Regions from separate parts of the Homo sapiens genome. Here all the other regions are linked to region 3. The links are contacts of gene promoters, found by promoter capture Hi-C in blood cells and fetal thymus (Javierre and others, 2016). All regions are on one chromosome and are shown on one strand. Each heading gives the region's core, a stretch centred on a gene start or on the middle of the fragment in contact. The rest is flanking DNA. Distances are from core to core; before and after follow the strand shown. Region 1 overlaps DCTN6 (dynactin subunit 6). Region 2 has its middle 36 kb from the start of DCTN6-DT. Region 3 holds the start of SMIM18 (small integral membrane protein 18).

Region 1 (2,700 bases), core at 127-2,626, 460 kb before region 3:
TCTCATCAGTGGTTTCATTATCACCAGAACCCTCAGCCTGTGGTAGATAAAGCTGGGAGGGAGTATGTTAGCATTCCAGGCTCAGGGCGGGGTAGACCGTGCTGGTGAAGTGGGAGTAATGAGGGCCCTGGCTGTTCCCTTCAATTCGAGACTAGAGGCATCGCCTCAGGGCTCCCCACGCCAAAGTCCTCGGACTCCAGTGATCACCTTTGGGTCCTTCTGCTGCCTCCCTTTAACCTTTTCAGCTTTCACTGGTTTAAATCATATCCTGGGCCAGACAGCAGAAGCTGTGCCACCTTTCAGTAGGTGTGCTTGTAATAGGGACACTGACAGAGGAACAAAGCTGTTAGATCCCATAATTTCTGACTTCTGTCCACCCATATTTCTCCTTTTTTTTTTTTCTTTTTTTGAGACAGGGTCTTGCTCTGTCACCCAGGCTGGAGTACAGTGGCATGATCTCAGCTCACTGTAGCCTTTGCTTCCTGTGTTCACATGATTCTCCTGCCTCAGCCTCCCAAGTAGCTGGGACTACAGGCGCACATACCATCATGCCTGGCTAATTTTAGTATTTTTTGGTACAGATGGGGTTTCGCCATGTTGGTCAGGCTGGTCTCGATCTCCTGACCTTAAGCGATCTCCCCGCCTTGGCCTCCACATTTCTTCTCAATTATGTAATAAAAAGACTAATTCGGAGGTACACTCGCATAAGAAAGCAGAACAGCTTAAGCAAAGAGAGTGTTACCTTGCTGAGGGAAAAGAAGGAATTAATTTTTATTGCCACCTTTGTGTCACATGCTGTGTCTCCAGCATTATCGCCCCTAGCCCTTACAGCAACCCTGTGGGACTGGTGTTGTCATCACCTCTGTTTCACCGCTGAGATCACAGGAAGCTTCCGAGTGGAGGCTGAGCCAGAGCTGTCTGGCTCTAGTGCCTGTGCCATTCCACTCACATTGGCTTGCAACTTGGCCCTGACTACTGATGATAAAGCCTGGGAGATAGTATCTGTGAAGTACCTAGCTTGGTGCCTGGCACATACTTAGAAAATGTTCCTCCCAACAGCCTCACCCATCCTCAGTCACCTTCCACCCTTCTGTTGGAAGCATAGCCTCCACCAATAATTTCTTCTCAAACTATTTTTAACAGGACCTCGGACAGTGATCCACCCTAAAGCAAGAATTATTGCGGAAGCCGGGCCAATAGTGATTGGCGAAGGGAACCTAATAGAAGAACAGGCCCTTATCATAAATGCGTAAGACTCTTATACATACTGTGAACCAAGTACCATGGGTAACGGTTTTTCTTAATTTCAGCTGTCTGTAAGAACCTTTTCAGCTGACATCCAGGAGGCCTACTATTTTAGAGCTAGAGAAGCATTAAGGGTCTTTTTCAACATAAGTAAATGAGCAAACCAAATACCATATGAGGGAAAAGACTTGTCCAAGATGAGAGAGCTGAGTAGCTGCCTAGAATCTTTGACGCTCGGTCTGGTGATCTTCCCCTTACATGTGGCTATCTCACCCATTCCTTAAGCAAACATTTCCCGAACACTTCAAGCCTCCAAGTGCTGTGCCCACCACCCTGCAGAGTTTTTTTTTTTTTTGATTTTTTGGTTGTAGCTGAAATGTTATTACTCATGCCTAAACACGTGAATTTAACTCAAATATATTTTTTCACATGTTTTGCACAGGTGACACCCAGAATTATAGTTGAAAAATGTGGAGTCTTAGAGGCAATTTTTAAACTGTAAAGATTAAAAATAATAAAATACTAGAACATGTGCATGATCTGAGTGAACTAGACTGTAATACGTATGAATTTTTCATAAACATAAGTTCTTTCTAGATAAAATTTTGGGAAGGAATTCAAGCTTATACCTAATTTATAGCAACCATGTATGGAATTTGTAAGAAAGACCTTGGGAAAATATTTAACTGTCAGAAAAAGACTGATTTAATGCTTACTTAGGATTTAAAATACATTTGGCACCTTCAGTGTAAGTCAATTAACAGCAACTATATTCTGCAGTAACTCAACTGTCAGAGATAAAGCACCATTTAAAAATGGCGTCCACCTCTTAGAACACAAACATTTTATCTTCCAAATATTTCAACTAGCTAACTAATAGCAATAATTATTTTATGTGAATATCTGTTTATGTTTCACAATCCCAAATGATTATTAAGGGTGGAAAATTTTCAAGTTAGGCATGATTTTGGTTCTAATTAACAGCCTAAAAAGATAGCTAGCATCTTCTTTCCTTTGTCCTGGAGAAGACCCACTGGACTTTGAATTTAAAAAATAAAGTAGGCTGGGCGTGGTGCCTCATGCCTGTAATCCCAGCACTTTGGGAGGCCGAGGCGGGCAGATCACGAGGTCAGGAGTTCAAGACCAGCCTGACCAATATGGTGAAACCCCGTCTCTACTGAAAATACAAAAAAAAATTAGCCGGGCGTGGTGGCACCCCACCTTGTAGTCCCAGCTACTTGGGAGGCTGAGGCAGGAGAATCGCTTGAAGCTGGGAGGTGGAGGTTGCAGTGAGCCAAGATCGTGCCACTGCACTCCAGCTTGGGGGACACAGCAAGACTCCGTCTCAAAAAAAAATAAAAAATAAAAAAATCAAATAAACTAAGGAAGGCTATTCTTTTCCACACACCAATGACTTCTTCACTTTTCAGTAGCTCTCTTCAACTCAAAATCAAG
Region 2 (2,700 bases), core at 33-2,532, 450 kb before region 3:
CTCCCAATTAGCTGGGACTACAGGCATGCACAACCATGTCCAGTTCATTTTTAAATTTTTTTTTGTAGAGACGAGATCTCCCTATGTTGCCCAGACTGATCTCGAACTCCTGGGCTCAAGCTATACTCCTGCATTGGCCTCCCAAAGTGCTGGGATTACAGGTGTGAGCCACAGCACCCTGCCCCAGATGGCATTCTTTACATTCTAACTTTATCATAATGCAAATAGAAACATTAAAAAGCTCTTTACTAAGTTATAATTATTAAATTTTGTTTGTCCCACGTAAAATCAAGTGCATTTTCAGTTTTGAACACTGAAAATGAAGGGTGAAATCTCTCATGTTGGAAATGATATTTTGCTAAGGCTGCCTTCCTCTTTTTGCAAGATATGTGGCCCCTTCTGTATGTTTAAAGCTCTGCACCAAAGAAGAGACATATGAGATCAAGGACAAGCTTCTGTCTTTCATGTCTTGGTCCATTTAAGCTGCTGTAACAAAATGCCATAGACTGAGGGGCTTAAACAATAGAAATTTATTTCTCACAGTTCTGGAGGCTGGGAAGTCCAAGATCAAGGTGCTGGTAGATTTGATATCTGGTGAAGGCCATCTTTTTACTGTGCCCTCACATGGCAAAAGGGGCAAACAATCTTCCTTGGGCCTCTTTTATAAGGATGCTAATCCCATTCATGAGGGCTTCATCCTCATGACCTGATCATCTCCCAAAGGCCCCACCTTCCTTTTTTTTTTTTTTTTTTTTTTTTTTTGAGATGAAATTTCACTCTTGTCCCCCAGGCTGGAGTGCAACAGTGCAATCTCGGCTCACTGCAACCTCCACCTCCCAGGTTCAAGTGATTATCCTGCCTCAGCCTCCCAAGTAGCTGGGATTACAGGCATGTGCCACCACACCTGGCTAATTTTTTGTATTTTTAGGAGAGACGGAGTTTCACCATGTTGGCCAGGCTGGTCTTGAACTCCTGACCTCAGGTGATCCACCTGCCTCGGCCTCCCAAAGTGCTGAGATTACAGATGTGAGCCACCGTGCCTGGCCTAGTCCCCACTTTCTAATACCACCATCATGGGGATGGAATTTCAAACATAAATTTGGGGGATGGGACACAGATTCAGACCATAGCACATCACTTTCTTCTTCCTAACAGATCTTCAATTTTGTTCAACTATCCACCCATCCATGGATTGACTTTAATCAGTCCATTCCAATGAATATTTGGCCTTTCTCTGATCCACAGGTGCATGTATAATTTGCCTAATACAAGCTAAGGGAAGAACATATTTCATAGTTGGGGGAGGTTTTCCTTCTTCCACTGGATGTGAATAGGGGAACATGCTGCCTGTTTGGAACTGGCAGCCACCTTACCACCATGAGGGGAAGCAACAAAATGCAAAGATATAAAAAATATAGATGCTTCAAGACATGGCTGAACCCAAACTTAGAGCCTAGTCCTTGTAGATAATACATTTTCTCCCTATTTAAGCGAGAGTGAACTGCGTTGTCTGTGACTTGCAGAAATTTTGTGTCCTGTTACAAAATATCAAAAAGTTGCCTCAATTTTCTAGTGTCCTGCTCTACTGATGCAGTAAGCATCTGCCTGGTCCCAACATTGCTGGCTGCTGTAGGGATGGTTAACTGAAAAGGGGCAAGAGCATATTATACATGTACAGTCACACACTGCATAACAACGTTTCAGTCAATGACAGACCACATGTATGACAGTGGTCTCATAAGATTATAATGGAGCTGAAAAATGCTTATCACCAAGTGATGTCATAGCCATTGGAACATCATAGTGCAACACATTACTCATGTGTTGTGGCAATGCTGGTGTAAACAAACCTACTGTGCTGCTAGTTGTATAGAAGTATAGTAGTTATCATTGTGTTACAATCACCTATAGTATTCAGAGCAGTAATGTGCAGTACAGGTTTGTAGCCTAGGAGCAATGGGCTATAGCCTAGATATATAGTAGGATATATCATCTAGTTTGTGTAAGTACACTCTGTGATATTCATACAATGATGAAATTGCCTAATGATACATTTCTCAGAACTCATCCCCATTGTTAAGTGACACATGATTGTAGATATGAAGCCAGAGAAAAAGCTTTGTTTAACAAGAGATAATGGCAGCTTTGGGATGTGGCAATAAAGATATGGACAAGTGGAAAAATTAAAGATGTAATTAAGAGACAAAACTGATAAGATTCAGGGATGAACTAAATACTAAGGGAAGGGAGAGACAGGTGGCAAGCATGACCCTAGGAGTTTCTATTTTGCATAAGTAGATGGATAGTGATACACTCACTAAGCTCCAGAGATCACCAGAACAGAGAAGGTTTAATATTGAAGAACAAGAATTTGATGTTTGCCAGGCGCAGTGGCTCATGCCTGTAATCCCAGTACTTTGGGAGGCTGATGTCGTGGATCATGAGGTCAGGAGTCCGAGACCAGCCTGATCAACACGGTGAGACTCCGTAAAAATACAAAAATTAGCCGAGTGTGGTGGTACATGCCTGTAATCCCATCTACTCAGGAGGCTGAGGCAGGAGAATCGCTTGAACCCGGGAGGCAGAGGTTGCAGTGAGCCGAGATCATGCCGCTTGCACTCCAGCATGGGTTACAAAGCAAGACTCCATCTCAAAAAAAAAAATAAAAAATTGATGTTTGACACACTGAATTTGAGATAC
Region 3 (2,700 bases), core at 33-2,532:
TGTTAAGGACAAACACCACACAAATGGCCAATTATGAATCACAAACAGTTGTGCTTATGAGACATGATGCTTATGTCTCTGGCATCTACTACTAACTCAATGTCAAGCTTAGTAAACACTCAATAAATATTTGTTGAATGAATGACTATAATACAGATATTTCTATGCATTCCTTTATGGCCCCAGAAACTAATGTACCAATTCATCTATAATTTTATTTTATTTATTTTATTTTATTTTATTTGAGATGGAGTCTCACTCTGTCGCCCAGGCTGGAGAGCAGTGGTGTGATCTCAACTCACTGCAACCTCTGCCATTCGGGTTCAAGCAATTCTCCTGCCTCAACCTCCTGAATAGCTGGGATTACAGGAGACTGCCACCGTGCCTGGCTAATTTTTGTACTTTAGTAGAGATGGGGTTTCACCATCTTGGCCAGGCTGGTCTTGAACTCCTGACCCTGTGATCCACCCAACTCAGCCTCTCAAAGTGCTGGGATTACAGGCATGGGCCACCGCTCCCAGCCTTCATCTATAATTTTAAAAAAGAAGTCTACATAGCATGTACCTGGTCTGCTGCTGTTGTTAACAGCCACTCCCATAATTAAAAACCTTCATTCTGTTGTGCTTAGACCATAACTCTAAATAATACACAGTAACTAAAAATACTCTGTCTCTAAAGAGCCAACCTGGAGATCACTTTGCCATTTACATTTTAGAGACTATTTTTTGAATGCAGGTAGTGTATTTACCTAAATGAGCCCTCTTCCAACTTGCAGAGCTAAAAGCCAATTATTTTCCTTCATAATTCCTCCTAAATCAAACCACCACATGGAAATAATCACTTCCAGAGTGCAAAAATTATATACGGAACAAGTAATGAAAGAAAAGGAAGAACAAGAAAAATTTATAAGATTTTATGCACACTTCCTGAAGGAAATATCAGGCTGGCAAACCTGGACTGTTTGTTTCCTAGGTTACTACCTTTCCCGACATTATCTTCCAGCCCTAGCACTGAAGTATTCACTGAAGGATCTGAAATTTTATAATGAAACACTAAAGAATCATCAATTTGTTAGTAACTCACAAATTCCTATATAGGAATTTAGCTTAAGAACAAAAAAATAAAGGAGAAGGGATGACAGTTGATACCCCAGACAGCTCTATTCAAGTTTATGAATGATTTACTCTTAAGGGTGGCAAGACTTAATGCAAATGAACATAGAGGAAACTGTCAGCTCCATTGTGGTTCAACCAATAGAAGCACAGCTCCATCTTGGCTGTGCACTAGACTGCATTACAAACAGACGATACCATCGCTTCAGCAGCATCCTCTCAGACAAGAGGTAGGTTTATATGATCTTTTTTATTTAGTGGTACATGTCCTTATGATGCAATAGGAAAATATTTTACCCTGAAAAATCAACCAGAAAGCTTTGCTCCTACTAAATATCAAGAAAAAGCAATGTATTCGTTTCACCGCTTGGTAGGATTTTATTATGAAAATATGAAGACTGCCTTGTGCTATTTGATAAGCACCCTTACCATCTGTGCCTTAATGGAAAATTCATTACATTTTACATGAACCTGATCTATATCCAGACCTCAGAGTAAACCATAGCTTTTTATTTTAACTGGTTACTTGCTAATTTCATTTTCTCTGAGCGATTTCATTTCTGCAGTTTGGTCTGTCTTAACAAAGGATTTTTCTTAAAGAAAAACCCAGATCAAAAGCGAATTCCAGACTAAAGCTTTCTGATTCTATGTGCAAATGATATTGGCTGCTAAAAAATAGTTACTTATAAGAAAGTTTGTTATATTTTTTAGAATATGAGAAAATAGTTCAAAATTATTTTTATTTTGCTTTGAATGTAGATGCAGAGAATGCCAAGAAATTATCACAATTTTAATTTTTATATAAAAGATCATAAAAGGTATCACTATATGGGCTGCATTATACTACACTGAACAGATAATTTATACAGCTTCAGACTTCCTTAACATTTAATTAAAGTATTTCTTCACTGTGAAATTTCTCTCTCGTAATATAAAGTCATGCTATTAAACAAAAACCTTCTTAAATAGCCTTTCATTTTTGATATCAATTTATCACACCATTTAAATATAATGTTGAAGTCATTCTTAAACTGATCCTCAAAATAAATACAAAGTAAGTCCTTTTGATAAACTGCATTTTAAAATAAAAATATGTCCTAAGAAGAACTGGTTAAGAAAGGAGAGTAAGTACCTTTCTAGGTAACAAGATTATCTTCGTGGCTCAGAGCAATCATTCATGTCTATTAAAAATTAATATTAACTGCTGACCAAATTTCTAATTTTATACTATTCAAGCATGAAAATTTAGTTATTTACTAGATGTTAGAACTCCATCTATATACTATATCGGACCTAAAGAGCCAGCTTCTGTCCTTTTACCTTGCTGGTAAGTTTATTTAATCTTTAAAGGGTTTTTGTTTTTTTTTTCTTCATAATTTCTATTCCTTTTCTTAGTCGGCATTCAGCTAGCCTGAGCAAAGTATCCCCTGCAAAACCCAAAGGTTGCTGTAATAAGATACTAGATCTGTCCAGGTTCAGCACAGTGGGGTTAATTATCTAGAAACCATTTGTGCTTGCTACAGAAAGTACAGAAGCACCAAACAAAAGTCTCAGATAAAATAAAAATAACTTTGTCAAATAAAACAGT

The links. The method cuts DNA at HindIII sites, captures the fragments that hold promoters and counts their contacts. A CHiCAGO score of 5 or more calls a contact.
Region 1: a fragment that was not itself captured here is called in contact with the fragment with the promoter of SMIM18 in region 3 in 2 of 17 cell types (M1 macrophages and endothelial precursors); the score reaches 7.2 in M1 macrophages.
Region 2: a contact is called between a fragment that was not itself captured here and the fragment with the promoter of SMIM18 in region 3, in 1 of 17 cell types (M2 macrophages). The highest score is 5.9, in M2 macrophages.

What each region holds. Positions count from the first base shown.
Region 1 is chr8:30,173,942-30,176,641 of GRCh38, forward strand. DCTN6 (dynactin subunit 6) reads left to right here. Exons shown (of 7, transcript NM_006571.4): 3 at 1,144-1,249. Among named protein-coding and RNA genes, the nearest start is that of DCTN6-DT, 19 kb to the left of the region's middle. The HindIII fragment of the contact is 978 bases long and covers 888-1,865 here.
Region 2 is chr8:30,191,597-30,194,296 of GRCh38, forward strand. No RefSeq gene overlaps it. Among named protein-coding and RNA genes, the nearest start is that of DCTN6-DT, 36 kb to the left of the region's middle. The HindIII fragment of the contact is 1,665 bases long and covers 451-2,115 here.
Region 3 is chr8:30,637,298-30,639,997 of GRCh38, forward strand. SMIM18 (small integral membrane protein 18) reads left to right here and starts at 1,283. Exons shown (of 3, transcript NM_001206847.2): 1 at 1,283-1,342. The region is part of intron 2 of GTF2E2 (general transcription factor IIE subunit 2); the gene reads right to left. The HindIII fragment of the contact is 1,323 bases long and covers 106-1,428 here.